Linked DNA regions of Homo sapiens: regions 2 and 3 are each linked to region 1. Evidence: promoter capture Hi-C in 16 types of primary human blood cells and fetal thymus (Javierre and others, 2016). All regions are on one chromosome and are shown on one strand. Each heading gives the region's core, a stretch centred on a gene start or on the middle of the fragment in contact. The rest is flanking DNA. Distances are from core to core; before and after follow the strand shown.

Evidence for each region. The method cuts DNA at HindIII sites, captures the fragments that hold promoters and counts their contacts. A CHiCAGO score of 5 or more calls a contact.
Region 2: a fragment that was not itself captured here is called in contact with the fragment with the promoter of SAMD5 in region 1 in 1 of 17 cell types (megakaryocytes); the score reaches 5.2 in megakaryocytes.
Region 3: a contact is called between a fragment that was not itself captured here and the fragment with the promoter of SAMD5 in region 1, in 1 of 17 cell types (M0 macrophages). The highest score is 5.3, in M0 macrophages.

Annotation. Positions count from the first base shown.
Region 1 is chr6:147,507,276-147,510,248 of GRCh38, reverse strand. SAMD5 (sterile alpha motif domain containing 5) reads right to left here and starts at 1,559. Exons shown (of 2, transcript NM_001030060.3): 1 at 862-1,559. The coding sequence starts at 1,320. The HindIII fragment of the contact is 12,433 bases long and covers 333-2,973 here.
Region 2 is chr6:148,189,394-148,192,366 of GRCh38, reverse strand. No RefSeq gene overlaps it. Among named protein-coding and RNA genes, the nearest start is that of SASH1, 150 kb to the left of the region's middle. The HindIII fragment of the contact is 1,665 bases long and covers 669-2,333 here.
Region 3 is chr6:148,121,545-148,124,517 of GRCh38, reverse strand. No RefSeq gene overlaps it. Among named protein-coding and RNA genes, the nearest start is that of SASH1, 220 kb to the left of the region's middle. The HindIII fragment of the contact is 973 bases long and covers 1,012-1,984 here.

The DNA.
Region 1 (2,973 bases), core at 310-2,809:
CCACATTTCGGAACTTCCAGGTTCCTTCCCTGAGGCCCCCGGTGCAGAGGATTCCCCTTTAGTTCACTTGTGCTCGGTCCTCCTCTCCCAAATGCAGGTCCACTCACACTTCCTGGAAGTCACAGTTGTACCTACTTCATCTTATCTGGCTTAATAATAAACCAAACTCGTGACAGCCCAGACCTCTGAAGCACATCCTGTGGCCCGATTATCTCTGATGTCCTTAGCACCTTATTGCCTCCAGTATACACAAGTTTAGGAAATCATCTCAAGTGGACTGACACGTGCTTCCTTCACTTTTCCTCTTAAAATGCTCATGTGAATGGTAAGCTTCTCAAATTTGCAGCAGCGCTGGGATTTTTTATGGAATTGAGAAAGGCAGGGCCTGACTTTCCACTCTTTAAAGAGTTCACCGATTTCCCTTAGGAGTTTCTCAAGACTCAAAAAAGGAAAAGAAAGAGAAAAAGGAAGGTAGAAAGCAATGTAGGTATTAACCATTTTTTCTGGTACTCTTCAAACCCAAAACTACTATAGAGGGCGTTAGGAATTCCCCCTGGCTACCAGGTGAAGCAGCGCGAGTCCGATTCCTGACAGGCGAGCACCAGAGAGGATGCGGAGTTTTGGTCGTTAGTTTAGAGATAACATCTGGATGCGGGGGCTTGTCTTACCAACCACTGGAGACACCAGGAAGGACGAAATAATGGGCTAATACAGAAAGAACATAGAAAAGGGTCCCAGATACCCAAAGCCTCCTGGCCTCTCCGTCGTCACCTGGAATGGGTTGCAAAGCCTTGGCACAGGCAGCTGGGCTGTGTCCCCTCCCGCCGCGCGCCCCGGGCCGCCCGGACGGCACCTCCTTACCTTGCGGGAGTACGGGGGCTTGCTCAGGTGGATGCCGTCACGGACGAGCTTATCCCTGATCATGATCTTCAGCTTCAGTTTGGGGTAGCTCACCAGCTCCCTGCTGCGGGGGGCGGTCGTGTGGCCGCGAGAGTCCCCGCGGGTGCCCTGGGCCGGGCCGCCGCACGGCTCCCCCCGGCGGCCGGTGGGGACGGCGTCGGCGGGCGGCCCGGGGGGCGCCGGCTGCGGCTCAAGCGTGAAGTAGAGGCCGGCGGCGTTGGCGTCCTGCTCCCGCAGCCGGCGCACGGCCTCCAGGATACGGCGGCGGTGCGCGGGCGCCAGCACCCCGATGGCATCCAGGTCCGGGTCCCCGATCTGCTTGCACACCTCCAGGTCATCGTAGCCGTTATCCACGAAGGACTCCGCGTACTGCGGAAGCTGCAGCGCTTTGAGCCACTCGTAAACTATGTTGGTGCACATGGTGGGACCGGGAACCCCGCCGCCGAGCACCTTCCCAGCGCCCAAATGGCACGGGCGGCACCAGTTCTTGGAACTTTTAATCCTCTCCTCCAAGGGGAAAAGGGTATCGCAGTAAAGTTTTCCTTTTAAAGGAAAGGCTCGGGCAGGAGACGGAAAACCATCAGAAGAAGCCTGAGGAAGGGAGAAGCGAACAAGCAGCAAAGTGAATTCCCCAAGCAGCAGCGGAGCTCGCAGGCACTGGCTGCTGGGCTGAGCAAGGCTCCGCGCCGCCCCTGGATGCGCCGCCGACGCTGCCGCCGCGGGGAGGGGCGCGCGACTGGCGCGGGAGGGGGCGGAGACGGGAGGGGCCGGGGCACACCCCTCGGACCTGCGCCGGGTCAGCGCTGCGCAGTGCCGCCCGCGAGTTTTCCCAGCCGGGACGGTCCGGCGGCTGCGCGCCGCATCTCGCGCTCTGGCAGCCGCCGCCGCCGCTGGCGCGCTCCGCGCCGCGAGGCGACTTCTCCACGCAGACCCGCGGCCGCTGGGAGCGCCTAGTCTTCGCGAGTGTCAGTCACTGTAGTCCTCCCGGCGGGAAGCCGGTGGCTTCTACGCTGCTGGGCTCCGTTGGCTGCCCTGGGTTGCTTTTCACATTTCTGTTTAATCTGACTCTTCTACCCGTGGAAGTCTGTGCTCACTTCTTCCCGACCCTGCCGGACTCCAGCTTCCGCGCCCGCTGGCAGCCCAAGGACACGTCCCGCCGCCCCACGGCGCTGGGGACGCTGCGGGGTTCAGTGTCCCTTCCTTCCGGATCCGCGTTTGAATCCCCCTTCCTCGGATCCCGTACGCAGCCCAGAGCCCGGCGATCTGACTTCTTCCGTGGGCGGCCACTCAGTGACCCGAGCGGCGGCGTTTTGGCCCGGAGGGTGGGCGCAACGTGGGGACCGCCCGGGTCCAGCCGGCTTGCGCGCCGCCCCTCCTCGCTGCAGCTGGGCACGTTGGGCGGCAGGAGAGGCTGCTGTCTTCCTGGCTCTCCCTTCCTAAGCTCCCGGGTCTGCGAAAGTTTGGGGTGGGTTGTACTTTCTCCTAGGTCAGTGTGTCCCACCCGGTACCCCACCCTCCTTTCTGCCCGGCCCCTCCCCCTCGTCGGCGCTATGCTTTCTCTCCGGGCCCCCCACCTAGTATACTGCACGGGCTCCCGGGGTGGCTTTGCCCCCGGGGACACTGCCAGGCGTTCGGTCCTGGAGCCCGGGAATCCGAGCCTATCCTCTCGCTCCCGCCCGGGGATCGCGTGAAAATCAATAGAGCACCACCCAGCTCGTGTTGGAAGGGACGCTCAGACATCTCCGCCCACGGCATTTTCCCTCTAGGAGGTAACAAAATCAATCGAGTTTCCCCATCATGCCAATGTCTGAGCAGCCTCTTGGGACTGGGGACTCGAGTGGCAGGTGGAACAGACCAAGCGCCTGGGCCCCATTTCCCGGTGTCTGACCTCTTCTTGGGACTAAGGGAAGTGAGGGACGGCGGGGGCAGGTACTGTCTCCTCTCTTTCCGCAGAAGGGCGATTCAGCTTCGCACCTGAGCTGTTTAAGGACCAGATCTGACCTTTTTTTCTGAAGATTGCCCGTGGGGCGTGCCAGTCTCTCGCCCGACCTTGGGAAGTGGACAAGGAGTGAT
Region 2 (2,973 bases), core at 252-2,751, 680 kb before region 1:
TCCCACATCTACACATGAGTAGGGCTTTCTAAAATGTTTAGTTTTATAAAATTTTACCCAGGAAAACAGTTATGTCTACTGCATTTTCTCTAGTCCCTGGCTATGTCAAATTAGTATTAGCTTTGCCAGATTAACTGCTTAAATGCACGAAAACAATTATTTACAAACCAAGAGACCCAGAAGAATGCAAACCTGGTCAAAAAACAGTAACTTTTCAAGAGGAAATATATGATTTTGCTGGGGAGATATCTAAAAGTCCTTGTTGACTTTCCTTCCTCAGGAGCCTGGGGAGGGCTACCCTTAGCTTAACCACTTCATTAACCTCTGGGCCTTCAGAACCTGTTGTACGAGTCCTGCCTCATAACCGAGTCCACCTCTGTGCTGGTGTCTGTGACTTGCTGAGTCACTTTTGCATACTCTGCAACTCTTCCAAATAGGTGAAACAACTATTTAGGTCTGGCAGGGAGTTTTCTTCTTTCCTATTGGTGAAATCTCATGTTCTATCTGGCTTAACATTCATTTCACTGAGTACAGGCACATGTACTTTTACAAAGATATACTTTTGAAAAGCTACAATACCTCCATGATTCTAAATTGAGTCATATTTTTGGAAAACTCAAGGACATCTTGATACTTAAAGGAATCCCTGGCATATCCACTTGTAAGCTTTTACAACTTTTGCAAAACCACTTGCCAAATGAGTGTTTTACAAGTGTGGGATTTTATAGACTGTGTTTTACTAAATTGAGGGACACCAGCTTAGCCCATGTGGCCTATGACGAACTCAGCTAAGGTCATTGGAGCACAAAAGTGGCTCTACAGGTAAATACTGATTCTTTTCCAGAGAGAGTTATTGAAGTTTTTTAGGCCAGGCACTGTGGCTCACGCTTGTAATCCCAGCACTTTGGGAGGCCGAGGCGGGTGGATCACTTGAGGTCAGGAGTTCGAAACCAGCCTGGCCAACATGGTGAAACCCCATCTCCACAAAAATACAAAAAAAAAAAAATAGCCAGGCATGGTGGCATCCGCCTGTACTCCCAGCTACTTGGGAGGCTGAGACAGGAGAATCGCTTGAACCCAGGAGACAGAGGTTGCTGTGAGCCAAGATAGTGCCATTTGCACTCCAGCCTGGGCAACAGAGCAAGACTTCATCTCAAAAAAAAAAAAAAAAAAAAGTCTTTTTGAGTATTAGTGACTTTTACTTGTGTGCAGACAATTTACAGGAAAAAGGATGCAAAATCAATTTACATTTTCTAACAAATTAAAATGATTTTAAGAGCAATCTGTAAAGGGTGAGTCAGTGGTGCCTTGAAAATGAACCTTTAACCTTCCTGCCCCTTTCTTACAAAACCAAGGCATTGAAAACCCAAAGTTTGGCTGGGTGTGGTGGCTCACATCTGTAATCCCAGCACTTTGGGAGGCCAAGTCGGGTGGATCAGAAGGTCAGGAGATTGAGACCATCTTGGTCAACACGGTGAAACCCCGTCTCTACTAAAATACAAAAAAAAATTAGCCGGGCGTGGCGGCCCATGCCTGTAGTCCCAACTACTTGGGAGGCTGAGGCAGGGGAATTGCTTGAACCAGGAGGCAGAGGCTGCAGTGAGCCGAGATCGTGCCATTGCACTCCAGCCTGGCAATAGAGTGAGACTCCGTCTCAAAAAAAAAAAAATAAAATAAAATAAAAAAAGAAACCCCAAGTTTCTTCTCTTTGCCCGATGTTGATTCAATTTCTTGAAGAGCAGGCTAGATGCTCCTGAGGAATGCAAAGTGCTATGTTTATCACTACCATACATATTAGCAACAGGGTTCGGAGGTTTTAATTTAGAGTTTTTCCCCCTTTTTCTCCTTCTGTGTATTTTTCTCCTTTTCCTATGTCTCTCCATGCCTCCGCGCCTTAGTATGGTAGAAAACAGACCTAGCGTGCAAGGCTTCCTGGTGTTTTCTAAAAGCCTGATTTCCAAAGGGGAGATGGAATTTGAGGAAAGAATGTCTCTGTGAAACAAGCCATGGTGGGTGTGGTGGTGCTTTCATGTAGGAAAACACTTCCCCTGGTCTAGGAGGAGGGCGAGGTGCAAAGGTCGTAGAGAAGCATGGCTCCCCGGCTTTCTTCTGGGAGGCAGAAGACCCTAGGAAGGAAGACTTAAGGGATGTCACAGGAAGAGAAGTGATGGGACTGGGATTCACAGCCTCCACAAAGATTCTCCTACTTGCAGAGGTCATGGAGGAAGCAGAGAGCTGCTGGGCATCAAAGGGGCCACTGTGGTCTGGGACAGTGGGGTGTGCTGGTGAGACCATAGTCAAGGTGGTTTGCCTTACTGGGTATTGTATAAGCTTCCTTAAATCTGGTGCAGCTCTGGGAAGGAAAGGAGAGCTCAGCAATGACAAAAATGAAGAACAGCTAGGGGCTCACAGTGGCTTTAAAACAAATATAAATGTTTGCGGACAAAGATTCATACCGGGTACTCATTCTGGTGCCAAACACTGGGGTGAGGCCAATTTTTTGCTCAGTTTTTTGAGGAGTAGGCAGGCAGAGTCATGTCCCTAGCATTATAACTAGAGAACCAGAGTGTCCTACCAGACAGTGCTGTGTGTAACTTTACCCCCAGACTCAAGGTCATCCAGAAGTCTTTGCGGAGTACCTTGACTCTACCACTGGGATCCAAGGTGTGGAGTTTACTGCTGTTGTTTCCTGACCCTGAAGAGTTAAGAGGCAGAGGATGAAACAACAGATTGTGAAATTTCTGAATTAGAAGAGATTATCACGTTAATTTTGATTTTGGCTTTTGAACTGTAAATGACAGACAGCACATCCTTACCAAATAAAATCCTATGGCAGAAAAAAAGATGCATTTAGTCCATATGTGGTGGCTCATGCCTGTAATCCCAGCACTTTGGGAGGCCAAGGCGGGTGGATGGCCTGAGGTCAGGAGTTCGAGACCAGCCTGGGCAACATGGCAAAACCTCATTTCTACT
Region 3 (2,973 bases), core at 249-2,748, 610 kb before region 1:
TATGCTACTCAGAACAGTGCACAATTGAAAACTTTTAAATTGTTTATTTCTGGAAATTTCCATTTAATTTTTTTGGACTGAAGTTGACCTCGAATAACTGAAACTGTGAAAAGTGAAACCATGGATGATGGGGGAACTGCTGAAATACTATTCCAAAGCTAAGTCAATATACTTATTAGAATTTCTTCTCATCTGCTCCATCTGAAGTCAACGTTTTCTTTGAAATCATATTTCTGCATTTTCCCCCATTTCCTAACTAACCATGTATGGATGCAAATTATTTTATAATTATTTAAATAAGAAAGAATACAAAAGGCTTCCTGGAGTAATGGTTTTAAGTAAACTACTGTTTAGACTAAAGTTTTCCTTATGAACTACTGATCATCACTTAATTTTAGGTGAAAATTTTTACACTGGCATCTCACTTGAGCAGTCTAAATGATGGCACACACATGGAGGAAAAATATTAACAGTGGTGACAATACTTACAATTTTCCTTCCAATTATGCATTTCTATATATACTATGTGCTATGGGCTAAGTTGCTGTATCCCCCAAATTCCTAGGTTGAAGCTCTAATGCCCGGTACCTCAGTGACTGTATTTGAGACAAGGCCTTTGAAGAGGTGCTTAGCTTAAAACGAGACTCTTAGGGTGGGTCTTAATCCAGTCGTACTGGTTATCCTTATAAGAAAAGAAACCTTGGATGGAAAATCGAGGCACCAGGAGTTGGTGCCCAGAGGAAAGGCCATGTGAGAACACAGGAAGAAGAGAACTCAGAAGGGATCAAACAGGCCGACACCTTGATCTTGGACTTCCAACCTCTGGAGAAAGTAGAAAATAAATTTCTGTTGGTTAAGCCACCCAGTCTGTGGTATTTGGTTAATGTAGCCCTAGTAAATGTTATTTACACATACATATACACATATACAAACACTCTAGCAAAGGATGCTTTCATCTACACATCCACACACACACTCCTCACGGATGATTATCTTCTGCAGTTGAAAGCTTCTTCATATATTTAATAGCATTGCCAAACATTGAAAATAGCCCTTCACCAAACTATTTTGGAATTTGGTGCATTGTTATTATATATGACAGATGTTTTCATCTCACAGTAAAATGTGTAGGTTAAGCCTGGAAAATACTACATAAAAAAAAATTGATCTGGGAGTTGTGGCTCATACCTGTAATCCCAGCACTTTGGGAGGCTGAGACAGAAGGATCGCTTGAGCTCAGGAGTTCAAGACCAGCCAAGGCAACATAGTGAGACCTCATTACTAGTGAAAAAAAAATGTATCAGGTGTGGTGGCATGCACCTGTAGCCTCAGCTACTCAGGAAGCTGAGACAGGAGGATCGCTTGAGGCTGAGAGATCGAGGTTGCAGTGAGCTGTGATCACACCACTGCATTCCAGCCTGGGTGACAGAGGAGACCCTGTCTCAAAAAAAAAAAAAAAAAAATGCATCGAGAGATACAAACTTCTTCATGTTTGTTCAGTTTGCTAAAAAAGTTCAGATAATATTTTATACTGTGCAGGGTTACACATAGATGAGATTGGCTAGCAAAGAATTTCGGGAGCAAAAATGAATTCCATAATTAGTCAACTTTTCCTTTTAGGTATTACTGGATTGTTTCTCTGTGAAAGACAATCACCAAAATAAGATTTTTTCGTGTTTTTTTTTTTTTTTTTGCCAAGGATTTGGTAGCTCTGCTTTGTAATATGTGATGATAGTAATAAATAAATAATTTCTCTGGCATTAATGATATTAACATTTTATGTAACTCATTCATTAAGGTCTCAAGTGGATGCTCAAAGCTATTACAATTCAGTACAAGTCACTTAGTATGAAACACACGCCTCCCACAGCACTACACTGGTTTTAAAATTGATAGCACCATCAGGTCTACAAGGTCTTGAGAAGAATTTCATTTTCTCACCAGTCTAAAGTGATTGTGCTATGTTCCCTGACCTTCAAAAGCTTTTTGTCATTTTTCTGCCATGTAGTGCAGAGGTTCTTTCCTCCATCCATTTCATTTAAATATGTGCTATGTGGGTAAATCCAATAAACTAAGTAGCCATTTAGTTAAAACCCTTGTGGGGGTCAGAGCTCTAGGGAACATTTCAAGGCACTGATGTTCCTTCTTCAACTCTGATTTCCTAGATCATTGATCATCTTCTACCAGCTCTTTGAAATGGATCCTCTTACCACACGCCCCTTAATCCCCTGTGTTGAAAGGAATGCTAGGTCTGGTACCCATTGGTATCCATCCCCCGGGGGAATGAATGAAAGGAGAGGGAACTCCTTTTCACGATTAATAGTCTAAAATTCTCCCAAGGAGACGCAAGCCCTGGACATCGCCAGACAAAAGTCCGTGAAGGTGAGTGGGGAGGATTCTCTTTCCTGGCTTCCTTCCCTAGAGCACCACCTTTGCTTATAAACAAATCTCCTGTCGCTTTTCCAAAGATAAGTCACAGGGTCAAAGGTGCCTGTAAGGTCGTTAGAACATTTTTCTTCCTGGGAGTGCTCTTTTGTCTGGAGAGCACATCAAGGTTGAGATTGTGAAAGAAGGTCAAGTGCATCCCAGGGCCTTGTAAACAATAAGTGCTTAATACTGTGGAATACAAATGAAGGAATGAGGAGGAATGTGCCATTTCAAAAATGTGTAACTCAAAATATGGCTTTGCACTACACGTATGCTTTTCGTGGTAGGTTTTAGATACACTATAAATTAAAAAATAGGTTTTAACTTGAAAACGGGATTCCATGGTGAAATAAATCTGCTAAGCACTGGGTTAAACCAAGTGAGGGATTTTTTAAACTGCAGGACCCCTCATAGCTTGAATTTTTGAAAGACGGCTGGAGCATTCAGGGATTCTGAAACTTGTTTAGCCATAGGACTTGTTTCTTCTACAAGATACTTGGAAAAGGTTGTGCTAAATAGTCTTTAACTTGCAGAAGGGATTAACTA